Linked DNA regions of Homo sapiens: all the other regions are linked to region 3. Evidence: promoter capture Hi-C in 16 types of primary human blood cells and fetal thymus (Javierre and others, 2016). All regions are on one chromosome and are shown on one strand. The core of a region is centred on a gene start or on the middle of the fragment in contact, and the rest is flanking DNA. Distances in the headings are between cores, read along the strand shown.

Region 1 (3,524 bases), core at 319-2,818, 910 kb before region 3:
ATGGAATGAGTGAATCCCCATCTTGATCCTATGTGGCTCATATCTATCACTTTGTAATTGCTGGCAATTTTAGAGAATTTAGGTGCATTATGTGGCTTTGAAGCCATATACAGTCTTTTGCTATATTCACTAGGTGATGGTAGTTTATGAAATACTGTGTAAGATAATGTGCCTGGTTTCCATTTCTAAATGAAATACCGTTTATTTTTATTTAAATTAAAAAAGTTTTCACTCGAGTGAGGAATTTTTTAGTTTTATTGAGGTTAGCATACATATAATAAAGTCCAAAAAATCTTAAATGTGGAGCTCAATGACATTTTATACACACATGTACAAATACGTGTATATTATACACAACAGTGTACCACCAACCAAATCAAGATATGGAATATTTCCAGGACCCCTGAAGATTCTCTCATGCTTCTTCCCAGGCAACACCCCCACCCTACCAGAGGCAGCCCCCAGCTGCCTCCAGAGGTAATCACTATTCTGTTGTCTATTTTTGAACTTCATATAAAATGGAAACATATAGTTATGCTCTTTTGGATGTAGCACCATTTATTGAAGACACATTACTTTAAGCCTTTGTGAAATACACACACACAAAGATACACACCGGATGACTATATGTGTGAACCTGTTTCTGGACTTTGTTTAGTTCCACTGGTCAGCTTGCCTTGGTCAGCTTGCCTTTCCTTGCGTCGATACCACATATCTTTATAAGAGATCTTGATATCTGGAGGGATAATGTCTTCCAGATCTGTTCTTCTTGGCTACTTTTGGCCCTTGAGTTCTTCTTTAGACTCTATTCTGTTCCATTCTTCTATTTGTCTATCTTCACACTAAGAACACGCTGTTTTAATTATCGTAGCTTTAGAGTAAATCTTATTATCTGGTGAGGTAAAACTTCCATTTTCTTCTTCCTTAAGATTATTTTGGCTATTCTTGGCCCCTTGCATTTTTATTTGTAAATGGTAGCATCAGCTTGTCAATTTCCACTACAAAAATATGGTGAGATTTTGATTGAGATTGCACTGAATTCATACATGACTTTGAGAAGCACTGGCAACTTTACAATACTAAAGTTTCCAAGACATTACATCGTATATCCTTCCATTTATTTAGCTCTTCTTTCATTCCTCTGAGTGATATGTTGTGGTTTTCAGACTAGAGGTTTTGCTAATCTTTTGTTAAGAATTTTTCGGAATAGTTTATATTCCAATGTTTAAAAATTTTCTAGTTGCTGTTGCTATGTAGAAATACAACTGCTTTTTCTGCCGGGCGCAGTGGCTCACACCTGTAATCCCAGCACTTTGGGAGGCCAAGGTGGGCGGATCACGAGGTCAGGAGATCAAGACTATACTGGCTAACACGGTGAAACCCCATCTCTACTAAAAAATTAGCCAGGCGTGGTGGCGGGCACCTGTATTCCCAACTACTTGGGAGGCTGAGGCGGGAGAATGGCGTGAACCCAGGAGGCAGAGGTTGCAATGAGCTGAGATTGCACCGCTGCACTCCAGCCTGGGCGACAGAGTGACTCCATCAAAAAAAAAAAAAAAAATACAACTGCTTTTTCTTATATTGACTTTGTTTTCAAAGACATCTCTAAATTCAATTTTTTTTTCTAATTTTTTTATTTTTAGAGATGGAGTCTCACTATGTTACCCAGGCTGGTCTCCAACTACTGGCCTCAAGTGATCCTCCCACTTTGACTTCCCAAAGTGCTCGGATTACAGGTGTGAGCCACTGCACCTAGCCTAAATTCACTTATTAATCTAATAGTTGACCTGTAGATTACTTTGGATTTTCTATGTGTACAATATATTGGCTATAATATCAACTTTGTTTCATCCTTTCCAATCATTATACCACTTCTTAATTTTCCTCACTTGTTGCTATAACTATACAGTATAGAACAGAAGTGATGATAGTGGCCATCCTTATCCTGTGTCCAAGCTCAAGTGCGGGTGCAATCACTCAGAAAACTGTTCAGCAGTGTATGATGAACATATAGATACACTGCAATCCAGCAATCCCACTCCTAGACATATGCCCACAAGAAATGAGTGTATGTCTACCAAAAGACAAGGACAAACATGTCCTTAATGGTTCTCTTCATGAGAAGGCCAAACTGGAAACAACCAAATTCAGAACAAATAAATGGTAGTAGACTCAAACAATCATATGCTATTTAGCAGCAAGAATGAACAAACTATTCCTACAACGTGGATGACTCTCACTAACTTGAGCAAAAGCAGTCAGACATTAAAAAGCACATATTATATAATTAAACAAAGTTCAAAAAAGGCAAAACTAATCTACGGTGTTAGAGGGCTTGGGGCTGGTTACTCAAGGGGGAGGATTTAGGATGGCGCTCCAGGGGCTTTCTGGAGGAGAGATAAATTTCCTGTTCTTGGCCTGAGTATTGATAGACAGCTATGTTCACTCTGTAAAAACTCCCTGAGCTATGCACTTGTGATTTGTGTGCATTTTTGTGTATATTTCAATTAAAAGTTTATTAAAAACTACATATATTTAACTGAAGTTCATTCTCACTGTAATCTGTACAATCTGAATTTGTATAACAAATGTCTGCCCAGCTCTATAAATGTACAGCTCTTGTAGACACCAGGCTTTTAGGCTGTATTTTGATATGCTTGTGCCTCTGAAGTTCTAGCTATAAGGGTAGTCTGTTTGTGCTGCTATAATGAAATAGCTGCAACTGTGTCATTTGCAAATAACAGAAATTTATTTCTCACAGTTCTGAAGGCTGAGAAGTCCAAGGTCAAGGCACCAGCAGGTTTGGTGTCTGCTGAAGGCCCATTCCTCATGGTGCCACCTAGGGGCCTTCACATGGCAGGACAGAAGGGCAAAAACGGCCCAAGCTAATTCCCTCCAGTCCTTTTATGAGGCACTAATCAAATTCATGAGAGCAGAACCCTCATAACTTAATCACTTCCCCAAATGCCAACCTCTTAATACTGCCACCATGAGGATAAAGTTTCAACGTGAATTTTGGAGGGGACACCATTATTCAAACCACAGGAGGGGCTATGGGTAGTAAGTAGAGTTTTCTCTGAAAGGGGTATAAATTATACATTGAGGGGAGAGAGCCTCTTAAACAGTATACTAAAGTGCAGAAGGCAGGCCTTGTTCCAGTGAAAGAAGGGACTCCAAACTCTCGCTATGCTTCATTTCCTTTGGTCTAGAGCAGTGGTTCCCAAACAGGGATTGAAGGGGCCAAGGAGTAAGTTGAAGACATTGCTATGAATCCAAATATGTAATCCACCAAGCATTATCTGTAAAATGAGTATCTCATACATATATGTACTATTATTTAAAAATACACTTTGCTACTTAATTTCATAATTCTTTTAAATGAATTTGTAATTTTTTAAATTAATAGACTTTGTTCATTATATATTTCCTCAAATATATAAACAGTATGCACATAAAAGTATGCCTACTATCAAAGGACTTTGAACAATTTGGGGGCAATAGGGAAGCCTGACATTTTAAAATCC
Region 2 (3,428 bases), core at 40-2,539, 720 kb before region 3:
ATCTACTAAGTTGAAAGCTGGTAAGATTCCCTTATCATTAGGCAGATCAAAGTATGAAAGTAATAAGATCATACTTTGATCTGCCTACTCCCAGTCCGTGTTCTTCTGATTATACTATACTCCCTCTCAGAAGATTCCTTTTGGTTGAGTGTTGTTTGTGGAGAAATGGTAACAAAGGTGCCAGATAACCAGTGGAGACTATTTCTAGAATTTGTACTCAAAAGATTCATTCTTTAAAAGCTTACCTTTGTTCCCATTCAATTGTGGTAACAATTGTGCATTTACTGTTAGCTGGAGAACCTTAAAACTTCAGAAGCAGTATTTGACTGCTTTGTGATGTTATAAATTGTAATATGAGTTTTCTACATAGATGGATGTCCATGGTAGAATAAGAGAAATCCTTGCTGAGACTATACGGGAAGAATTGGCACCTGATCAACAGCATTTATCAACAGAAGATTTGATCAAAGCCCTTAGACGTCGAGGAATCATTGACGATGTGATGAAAGAACTTAATTTTGTTACTGTGAGTAATCTTTTAGGGAAATAAATGAGAGTATATATGTATATACTAATGCGTAACACTACTTATAAGGTTCCGATGTGGGGCCTTTCGTTTTAGTAAAACCACTTCAAGGTCATTCTGTTTACTAGTGTCCTTGTTTCAAGTATAGGCTAGCTCTGCCCTTGAATATACTGAATAGTTTTGTGTATCAATGAAATTTGTGTTAGATATCTTATTCCTGTCTCTACAGTGACAGAATTTTCTCTTATTTTCTAGGTCTGTAAATTTGAATATACATACTTTAGTCCAATTAGTTCACCATAACAAAGTTCTTTTTCATTATGATCTGTAACTTTTTTAGATTAAGCGTATTTTTAAAATAAGCACTCTTTTGGGATTATATTCTCTATGATTAACAAATTACAAATTTCTTTAAGAAAATAATTGACTGCATAAGAGTCCTCAAATCTTTTAATACAAATAGGTCAATAATGGGATGATAGTCTCTCAGTGCACAATTAGTAAGTAGGCCTTCATTTGAAAGTGAGGCAATAATGGAAACTGTGACCTCAATACCTGGGTAATATAATGTGAAAATTGGATGGACTTCATAATACAATAGGGAATAAGTATTTTAATACAGCACCTTTTTTTGGTTTTTGAAGTTTATGAACCCGTTTGTTATAAAAATTGACCTAATAACAGCTTCTACTCTGTGATGACACTTTATTAAAATCAGCTCATAGTGGAATTATAAGCCAACTGTTACATAAGGTTTACAGAAAGTTTAACCTTGTTGAAGGTATTAAGGATTTGTTTTTAGCTTTATGTGGATAGTATTACTTGAAGACAGTTTAATTCCTTAGCATTTGATTTTAGGAGTGATCAGTTTACATCATCTTTTATGCAGGCTTTTATTTTCATTATTTTAATTAGGCTAGGAAAATAAGGGGTTCTTTGAAAGGGCCTTACCCTGTTGACTTTAGGTTCAGTGCTTAGTCATGTTTATTGACATTTCCTTAACCTATAATTGTTTTCTAATTTGTTTTGATTTTTTTTTCCTGCCTTTCTAGGACAGTGTTGAGCAAGAACTCCCTTCCTCTCCAAAACAACCTATTTGTTTTGATAGACAATCGACATTAAAAAAAAGTATGTATATTTTAACATTAATTTAGTTGTGGTTAATAGTAAATATTGATGTGGTGTAGTCTTTCGTATTTGATAGAAGACATTTCCATTTTTTCCCCCCAAAATAAAATACTTAAAATTTTATGGTTGGCTAAAACAGATTGTTTTGCATGAAGTATATCAGAAGAGTTAATGTATAGCACGGTAGAAGCAAAAACAGCATCACCAGTTTCTTGTGTTTTAATAATATGTTTTATAAAAACTGTACAGCCTTGCTTTTAAATATTAATATAATTGACAAATACACTTGCTGAATTGATAATTATATGAGTTGGTTTGTGAAGGTGGAGGAATGTTGGATAAGCAGTTAAAAAGCAAAAGTATACTACATATTGGCTCTGATGCCTTTTCCAGCTGGGAGAAAGTAGCCTGGATGTAAACTCAGAAAAGAATATCATATTTTGTGTATCTTCTCCCCAGAGTGCAAATGATTCTGGCATATACAGTAATAAATTTGTTACTCTTTTGCTTTTTTTTTAGTCTTTGGTATTGGGTTTTTATCTGTCAAGTTTTTATTTCCTAATGTCTTGATCACATTCTTTTAAGTTATTTGGCAGTTTCCTCATATATATTGCTACACTTTACAGCTAATATTGATCCAACACGGAGGTATCTTTACCTTCAGGTTTTGGGTGGAAAAGCTTTCTTGGAACATCTGCAAGAACCTGAGCCTTTACCTGGACAAGTTTGTTCAACGTTTACTTTATGTTTACATTATCGAAACCAACGTTTTCGTTCTAAACCTGTTCCATGTGCCTGTGAACCAGATTTTCATGATGGCTTTTTACTTGAAGTACACAGAGAAAGCTTGGGTAAGAAACAGTAATAAATTGTCATTTAATTGAGTAAATCTTTGTTATGTTTTATTGTGAAACAATAATAATGACTTTTTCTGTAAGGAGAGATTTATAATGGAGGAATCTCTATTTTGTTTCCCACTGCTCTTTTCAATTTAAACTACTATCCACCTTCTTGCAATATTCTGTTTGCTATTCATTTTCCCTGGATATTATTTTTTGACTGTTTTCATTGTTGATTCTTTAGTAATACACACTTAAATACCTATTATGTGCATAGTGTTATGCTAGGCAGGTGCTGGGATGATATAGTGGAAAATGAGACATGGTCCTTCTCATTTATAAAATATAACCAGATTGATGATGTTATGTAACTTTTAAAAGTCGAAGTTTAGGCTGAGCACGGTGACTCACAGCTGAAATCCCAACACTTTGGGAGGTCTAGGTGAGAGAATCATTTGAAGCCAGGAGTTCAAGACAAGTCTGGGCAAAGTGAGACATTGTCTCTACAAAAAATAAAAAATAGGCTGGGTGTGGTGGCTCATGCCTGTAATCCCAGCACTTTGGGAGGCCAAGGCAGGTGGGTCACCTGAGGTCAGGAGTTTGAGACCAGCCTAGCCAACATGTCGAAACCCTGTCTCTACTAGAAATACAAAATTTCTAGCCGGGCATGGTGGCAGGCGCGTGTAATGAGCCGAGATCACCCCATTGCACTCCAGCCTGGGCAACAGAGTGAGACTCTGTTTAAATAAATAAATAAATGAATAAATATTTATAAATTATTTATAAAAACTTCTAATAAATTTTTATAAATACTTACAAATAAATATAAATAAAATAAAAAGTCAAATTTAGATGTGAACATATAACTGTCATTTTAATTTTTTCTTTTTTTTCTTATTTCTCCAATAAAGCATGTAATTCTCATAACTAAATTT
Region 3 (3,069 bases), core at 214-2,713:
CAAATTTAAGATTGATAACAGTCCGATTTCAACATCTAGGGAAACTGGTAGAGCATTTTCGGACTGTCAGACCTCAAAAAAGAAAACAAATGTTTGAATATAAAAGGCCAATCTGCTCTCAGCACACCTCCTGTCTCTAAAATCCCCGAAAACAATCACTTTTTTTTTTTTTTTTTGAGACGGAGTTTTGTTCTTGTTGCCCAGGCTGGTGTGCAATGGCGCGATCTCAGCTCACTGCAACCTTCGCCTCCCAGGTTCAAGTGATTCTCCTGCCTCAGCCTCCCAAATAGCTGGAACTAAGGCACGCGCCACCATGCCCAGCTAATTTTGTATTTTCAGTAGAGACGGGGTTTCACCATGTTGGTCAGGCTGGTCTCGAACTCCTGACCTCAAGTGGTCCACCCGCCTCGGCCTCCCAAAGTGCTGGGATTACAGGCGTGAGCCACTGCGCCCGGCCCACAATCACATCCTAAGAGACAAACATGGAGTAAGCCATCTTACAGTCCTGGGAGAACCAACACTCGCTTGCCTACCACTACCGTCGGTGTGTCAGGCACTGCTAAAGGTACTGAGGAAAGTGGAAGGAACAATCACAAAAATGAAAAAGAGAAGAGAGGAACTGCACTCCATTTTAAACTCTGCTCGCTGGTTTTCGGTAGCTCTGCGGCTCGGTTTTCATCCTTCCGGGCAGTGTAACAAGTTCCTCCTGAACTCTGAGTCCGTGGCCGTCGCGGAGCTGAGCCACTTTCAGGGTGTGGGTCAGAGTAAGTTTGGGTTGAGGATGCTGCAGCCAGGACAATCAAACGGCAGCCCAGCCAGATCCCCACGCGGCTGGGGCTTAGCCCCGGGCTTCCTACCGCGAGCTGAATCCGTTCATAGGTCCTTAAAAATCAACAGCCCCGTACGCTACCCCTGGAGAGATTTCTACATTCTGACCACTCACTCAAACGCAAAGGTCACGTTAGCCGCTGAACTCCAAAGCAGAGGGGCTCGCCGCCAGGGCTCCGGGAGTTGGAGAAGGGCGCGGGAGGTGTGTCCAGGACACCAGCACAAAGGCTCCTTTCACCGCTCCGCGCCCCGCGCCCTCGGGTGCGGACCCTGGGCGCCCGCCGGCTGCGCGCCAGGACCCCGCCACTCCAGGCGGCTCCCAAGGCCCACGCGCTTCTGCTCCGCCCGGACTTCCGAGCCCAGCCGTGGCGCTCACCTGTCCTGCCCGCAGCGCCAGCTGCACGGCCGCCTGGAAGCACTCCTCCCAGGGGCCGGCCGCCAGCGCCGCCTGGTCCTCGCCGCTCGGCTTCATCGCGGCCTCGCCGGGCCCCTCCACCTCCAGCCCCCCTCGGCGGGACTCCGGCTCCCACCGGATCCCGCCGTCCCGCCGCCAGGCTCCACACTCCCTGTGCCTGCTCCCGCAGCTCTGTGCCTAGTCCGCCGCCCGTCCCACACCTGCGCTGGCGGGAAGGGCAGCCAGCGGGCCGCGGGAGCCGTGCGTCCTGCTTTCCGCTCCCCACCCTCCGCCCCGCCCCGTGCCGAGCCCAGCCCAGCTCCCCGCCCCGCTCCCCGCCCAGCTCCCTGCTCCCGCGTCCGGCCCCGCTCTGCATTCCCCACCTCGCCCCTCGCAGAGCTCGGCCCCGCCCATTCCCCCCTCTTCCCCGCCCCTTGACGCTCCCGGCCCCGCCCCGCACCCGTTGCTGCTCCTGGCCTCTTCCCGCGCCGTGCCCGGCCCCGTCCTGCACCGCCCCTCCCGCTCCCGGCTGCGCCCCGTACCTGGCCCCGCCCCTCTGGGCTAGCCCTGAACACAAATCAGTGCCGAGCCTGGTCCCTCTCCGCTCCGCGCTTTACCTCCAGCCCCGCCCCTGTGGTGCAGCATCACCCTCCCCGCTCGAGGCGGACCCAACCCTGCTCCGCCGTGCCCCGTCCCGCAGCGCGCAGAGCGGGCTCCAACTCCTCTGAGCCTCGAGCCCCGCCTCCCTCAAGTTGAGCCGGGCCCGTGTCCAAGCCCCGCCCCACCGCCGCGCGCTGAGACAGGCCCCACCCCCGGCTCGTGCAGAACTCCGTACTGTTCTGGGTCAAGCGCGCGGAGGGCGGCTTGGGCCACCGCAGAGCTGGGAGGGAGGAGCTAGGAGCGGCTGTTTTGGGGGCCCGGGGCAGCTACTGTCTGGGTGGGACCGTGCGGTGCCGGCCCAGCCCCGGAGGTGCCGGGGAGCGTCCCGTCCGCGGATCCCCGCGCACGTGGTGCCGGGCGTCCCTTCATGGTCTGTGGCCGGATTCGGGCTCGAGCGCCAGGGGCGGCTGGGCCAGCACCTTCCGACCGGTCGCTTTTTGTTCGCGGAGGCCGCTGGGCGCTAGGCGTCGTTCTCGGCCTCGCAGGAGCTCAGACCGCCGAGCGCACAAGGCCGCAGTGTTCCTGCAAGCGGCCGCCCCGCGCGGCAAGTTTGGTCGCAAACAAGCTCTCCCTCCGCTAACCCCAAACACTGCGAGGACAGCGGCTGGACTTTATAAACTCTTCACACCCAAAACTCGAATTTGGAGACGGAACTGTGATTGCGATGAGCCTCTGTAGTGAGGAATGACCTTTCCAACCTTGGATTCTCTTGCTGGCCCATGTAAACATAAATAGGAGGCATTTCCCGAAAGAGTGGCCGCGTGGTTTCCAAGGTTAATTTCATAAGCCGCTCTGCCTGCCCGTTTTATAAAAGATGCTAACCCACGTAAAATTATTCTGGAGTGCCACTTCGGAGTCTGGGAGAATAATGGGAGTTTGTACAAGAACCTTGATGGGGCATTTTTTACACACTTAACCTAATAATGAAATTAAACGTTTTTAGTTTTTGAGTACTTTATGCTGAAACACCTTGTGGAGAAACTTTAAGTGTACCGTATAAGAGACAAAAAGTACAAACAGGAGGAATTACAAACAGGAAATACAAACACGCAGATATGGGTACAACTTTAGGGACTCTGGCCTCACCCAGAGCCCTAATCCTACGGCTCAGAAAACTAGACCAATTGCCCTGCCTCCCACCACGCCAGTTTGGGGCAGCTAAGGGCGCACTCCCCTCCATCTTTTTT
Region 4 (3,027 bases), core at 455-2,954, 960 kb before region 3:
TTATCAGGAAAAGGCATTCTAGAGGGCGTAGTGGTAAAGTTAGGATGGGAGACAGTGGAAGCTTGCGTCAGGGGAGCGAAAGTACAGAAAAAAAAAAAATGAGGCTGCAGAAGGGACTTGCCCTTTGGATTTTGGCCAGGAATGACAAAAATGTGAGGTATGGTAAAATTAGCAGGCTGGAAAGTTTTTTAAATGATTAGTCCCAGCTGTCCCCTGATGGATTGCACAGAAACCTGCAAAGAGAAGTGGCGCAATGACCTGACCTTTTTCAACCATAAATAAGATTTTATTGCTACTTTAAGAGGTGGGCCCCACCTCTTATGATAACTGATAACAACTATAACTTTTTTGAAGGTCAAAGACACTCATTTCCAAAGAAAGTGCTCACTATAAAAGTCCAATCAAAATATATTGATTATTATAAAAATATCAAAACAGTTTAAAAATTGTTTTAATTAAATTTAAATACAGACAGTAAACAGATCATTGGTTGCCAGAGATTATCAGAGTGGGAGTGAAGTGTTGAATTAGGTGAAACAGTGGATTTTTTAAAATAGACTTTAGTTTTTAGAACACTTTCAGGTTCACAGCAAAATTGAGCAGAAAATAGAGTTCCCGTATGTACCCCTACTGTCACACATGCACAGCATCCTCCACTGTCAACATCCCATACCAAAGTGGTACCTTTGTTATGATCAGTGAACCTACATTGACACATCATTATCACCCAAAATTCAGAGTTTGCATTAGGGTTCACTCTTGGTGTTTTATTCTGTGGGTTTTGGCAAATATATAATGACATGGATCCACCATTATAGTATCACGCGGAATAGTTTGACTGCCCTGAAAATCCTTAGTGCTCCTGTTCATCCCTTTCTTCCGACAACACCTGGCAACCGCTGATCTTTCCACTGACTGCATGGTTTTGACTTTTCCAGAATGGCATATAATGGGAATCTTGGAGTGGCTAGCCTTTTCAGATTGGCTTCTTTCCTTATAGTAATATGCATTTAAGCTTTCTCCATGTCTTGTCTTGAGAGTTCATTTCTTTTTAGTGCTGAATAATATTCCATTGTCAGGCTGTAACAGTGTTTATTCATTCCCCAACTAAAGGGCATTCTGGTTGTTTCTGTGTTTGGGCAATTATCAATAAAGCTCCTACAAACATCTGTGTACAGGTTTTTGTGTGGACATGTTCGCAACTCCTTTGGGTAGATACCAAGAAGCATGATTGCTGGATCATATTGTAAGAGTAAGTTTAGTTTTGTTTTTTGGGGTTTTGTTTTGTTTTTTGAGACAGGGTCTCACTCTGTCATGGCAGACAATCGTGGCTCACTGCAGCTTTAAATTCCCTGGGTTCAGATGATCCTCCCACCTCAGCCTCCCGAGCAGCTGGGACTACAGGCACAGTGCCACCACACCCAGCTAATTTTTCTGTTTTTTGCAGAGATGGGGTTTCACCATGTTGAGCAGGCTGGTCTCAAACTCTTGGGCTCAAGCGATCCTCTTGCCTTGGCCTCCCAAAGTGCTTGGATTACAGGCATGAGCCACTGTGCCTGGCCTGGTTTTATAAGAAACTTACAAACTGTCTTCCAAAGTGGTCGTGTCAGCCAGGCCTGGTGGCTAAATTACCCTGTAATCCAGCACTTTGGGAGGCCGAGACGGGCAGATTATCTGAGCTCAGGAGTTCAAGACCAGCCTGGGCAACGTGGCGAGACCCGCTTCTCTACTAAAAATACAAAATAAAAATACAAAAAAATGCCCCAGGAGTGGTGGTGGAACCGAGATTGTGCCACAGGACTCCATCCTGGGCAACGCAGGGAGACACTATCTCAAAAAAAAAAAAAAAAGAGAGAGAGAATTTAACACAGGAAACTGGTTACATATATATCCAAGGGGTTAATTAAGAGCAAAAAGGGAACATGTGAGATTACCCAGAGACTAGTAACTACGGGAAACTCTGGGCTGGGAGCGTGAAAGGGAAAATAGTTTTACCCAGTGCTACCATCATTGACTCTGAGGCTGCTGACATTGGCACCTTTACCACCAGCAGGCAGAAAGCCAGGAGCCAATACTCCAGCTTACACTGCAGGCGTCCAACAGAGTAACAGCCATGGGAGCCCACAAGCTCTGAACAGCTGAGGTTCCTGGAGCCTCTGCTAGTACTGCTGGAGCTAGGGCTGAGTGCTGCTGCTACTGCTGCTGTTCACATCACCCCCGAGCAGGAAGCCAGGCTCACCCATTGCCACCACCACCACTACTCAGCTATGTGAGCTGCCTCCACAAATTGGAGAAAAGGTCTTCTTCCTCCTGCATCTGAATCCCCTACTGTCTCTCAATTCAGAACCTAACTAGAAATAGAGAGCTAATAAGAGTCTGGAAAAACAAGCTTGGAGGTTTCCAGTTCATATTCTGGAAAGAATACGACCTACAGTGAAGGCTGGGCGTGGCAGCTCACACCTGTAATCCCAACATTTTGGGAGGCTGAGGCGGGCAGATCACTTGAGGTCAGGAGTTCAAGACCAGCCTGGCCAACATGGTGAAACCCCGTTTCTACTAAAAATACAAAAATTAGCTGGGCGTGTTGGTGAGCGCCTGTAATCTCAGCTACTCAGGAGGCTGAGGCAGGAGAATCGCTCTAACCCTGGAGGCAGAGGTTGCAGTAAGCTGAGATTGCACCGCTGCACTCCAGCCTGGGCAACAGAGCGAGACTCCATCTCAAAAATATAAATAAATAAATAACCTACAATGAGTTAAGAAGCTTTCACATTTTTTTTCCTGCTCTGCGCCAGTTTAAATAGCATAGGAACTGAAAGATTCCTATGAAGATTTTGTAGAAGATTCCGTGAAGATTTTGTAGATGACGTTCACAAAATTTTATCAGCCTCATGCCTTGGGTGATGATAGGTATAGTTAATTTTAACTACCTTTTAAAATTATTTTATTCATGGCCTCTTCAGATTTTTTACCTTTTGTCAAGACAATTTTGATCATTTATATCTTCCTTTAAAAAATCAGCCATTTTGT

What was found. Contacts are between HindIII fragments. The CHiCAGO score rates a contact against its expected background, and 5 or more counts as called.
Region 1: a fragment that was not itself captured here is called in contact with the fragment with the promoter of IMPA2 in region 3 in 1 of 17 cell types (non-activated CD4 T cells); the score reaches 8.3 in non-activated CD4 T cells.
Region 2: a fragment that was not itself captured here is called in contact with the fragment with the promoter of IMPA2 in region 3 in 1 of 17 cell types (non-activated CD4 T cells); the score reaches 5.6 in non-activated CD4 T cells.
Region 4: a contact is called between a fragment that was not itself captured here and the fragment with the promoter of IMPA2 in region 3, in 4 of 17 cell types (non-activated CD4 T cells, naive CD4 T cells, monocytes and 1 more). The highest score is 10.3, in non-activated CD4 T cells.

The regions. Positions count from the first base shown.
Region 1 is chr18:12,886,059-12,889,582 of GRCh38, reverse strand. No RefSeq gene overlaps it. Among named protein-coding and RNA genes, the nearest start is that of PTPN2, 3.6 kb to the right of the region's middle. The HindIII fragment of the contact is 5,305 bases long and covers 1-3,524 here.
Region 2 is chr18:12,698,056-12,701,483 of GRCh38, reverse strand. CEP76 (centrosomal protein 76) reads left to right here. Exons shown (of 12, transcript NM_024899.4): 2 at 371-526; 3 at 1,579-1,654; 4 at 2,281-2,505. It also overlaps a transcript of PSMG2 not described here. Among named protein-coding and RNA genes, the nearest start is that of CEP76, 3.0 kb to the left of the region's middle. The HindIII fragment of the contact is 2,094 bases long and covers 243-2,336 here.
Region 3 is chr18:11,979,901-11,982,969 of GRCh38, reverse strand. IMPA2 (inositol monophosphatase 2) reads right to left here and starts at 1,463. Exons shown (of 8, transcript NM_014214.3): 1 at 1,205-1,463. The coding sequence starts at 1,300. RefSeq lists silencers at 926-2,405, 2,246-2,540. The HindIII fragment of the contact is 12,350 bases long and covers 1-3,069 here.
Region 4 is chr18:12,944,005-12,947,031 of GRCh38, reverse strand. No RefSeq gene overlaps it. Among named protein-coding and RNA genes, the nearest start is that of SEH1L, 2.5 kb to the left of the region's middle. The HindIII fragment of the contact is 1,374 bases long and covers 1,018-2,391 here.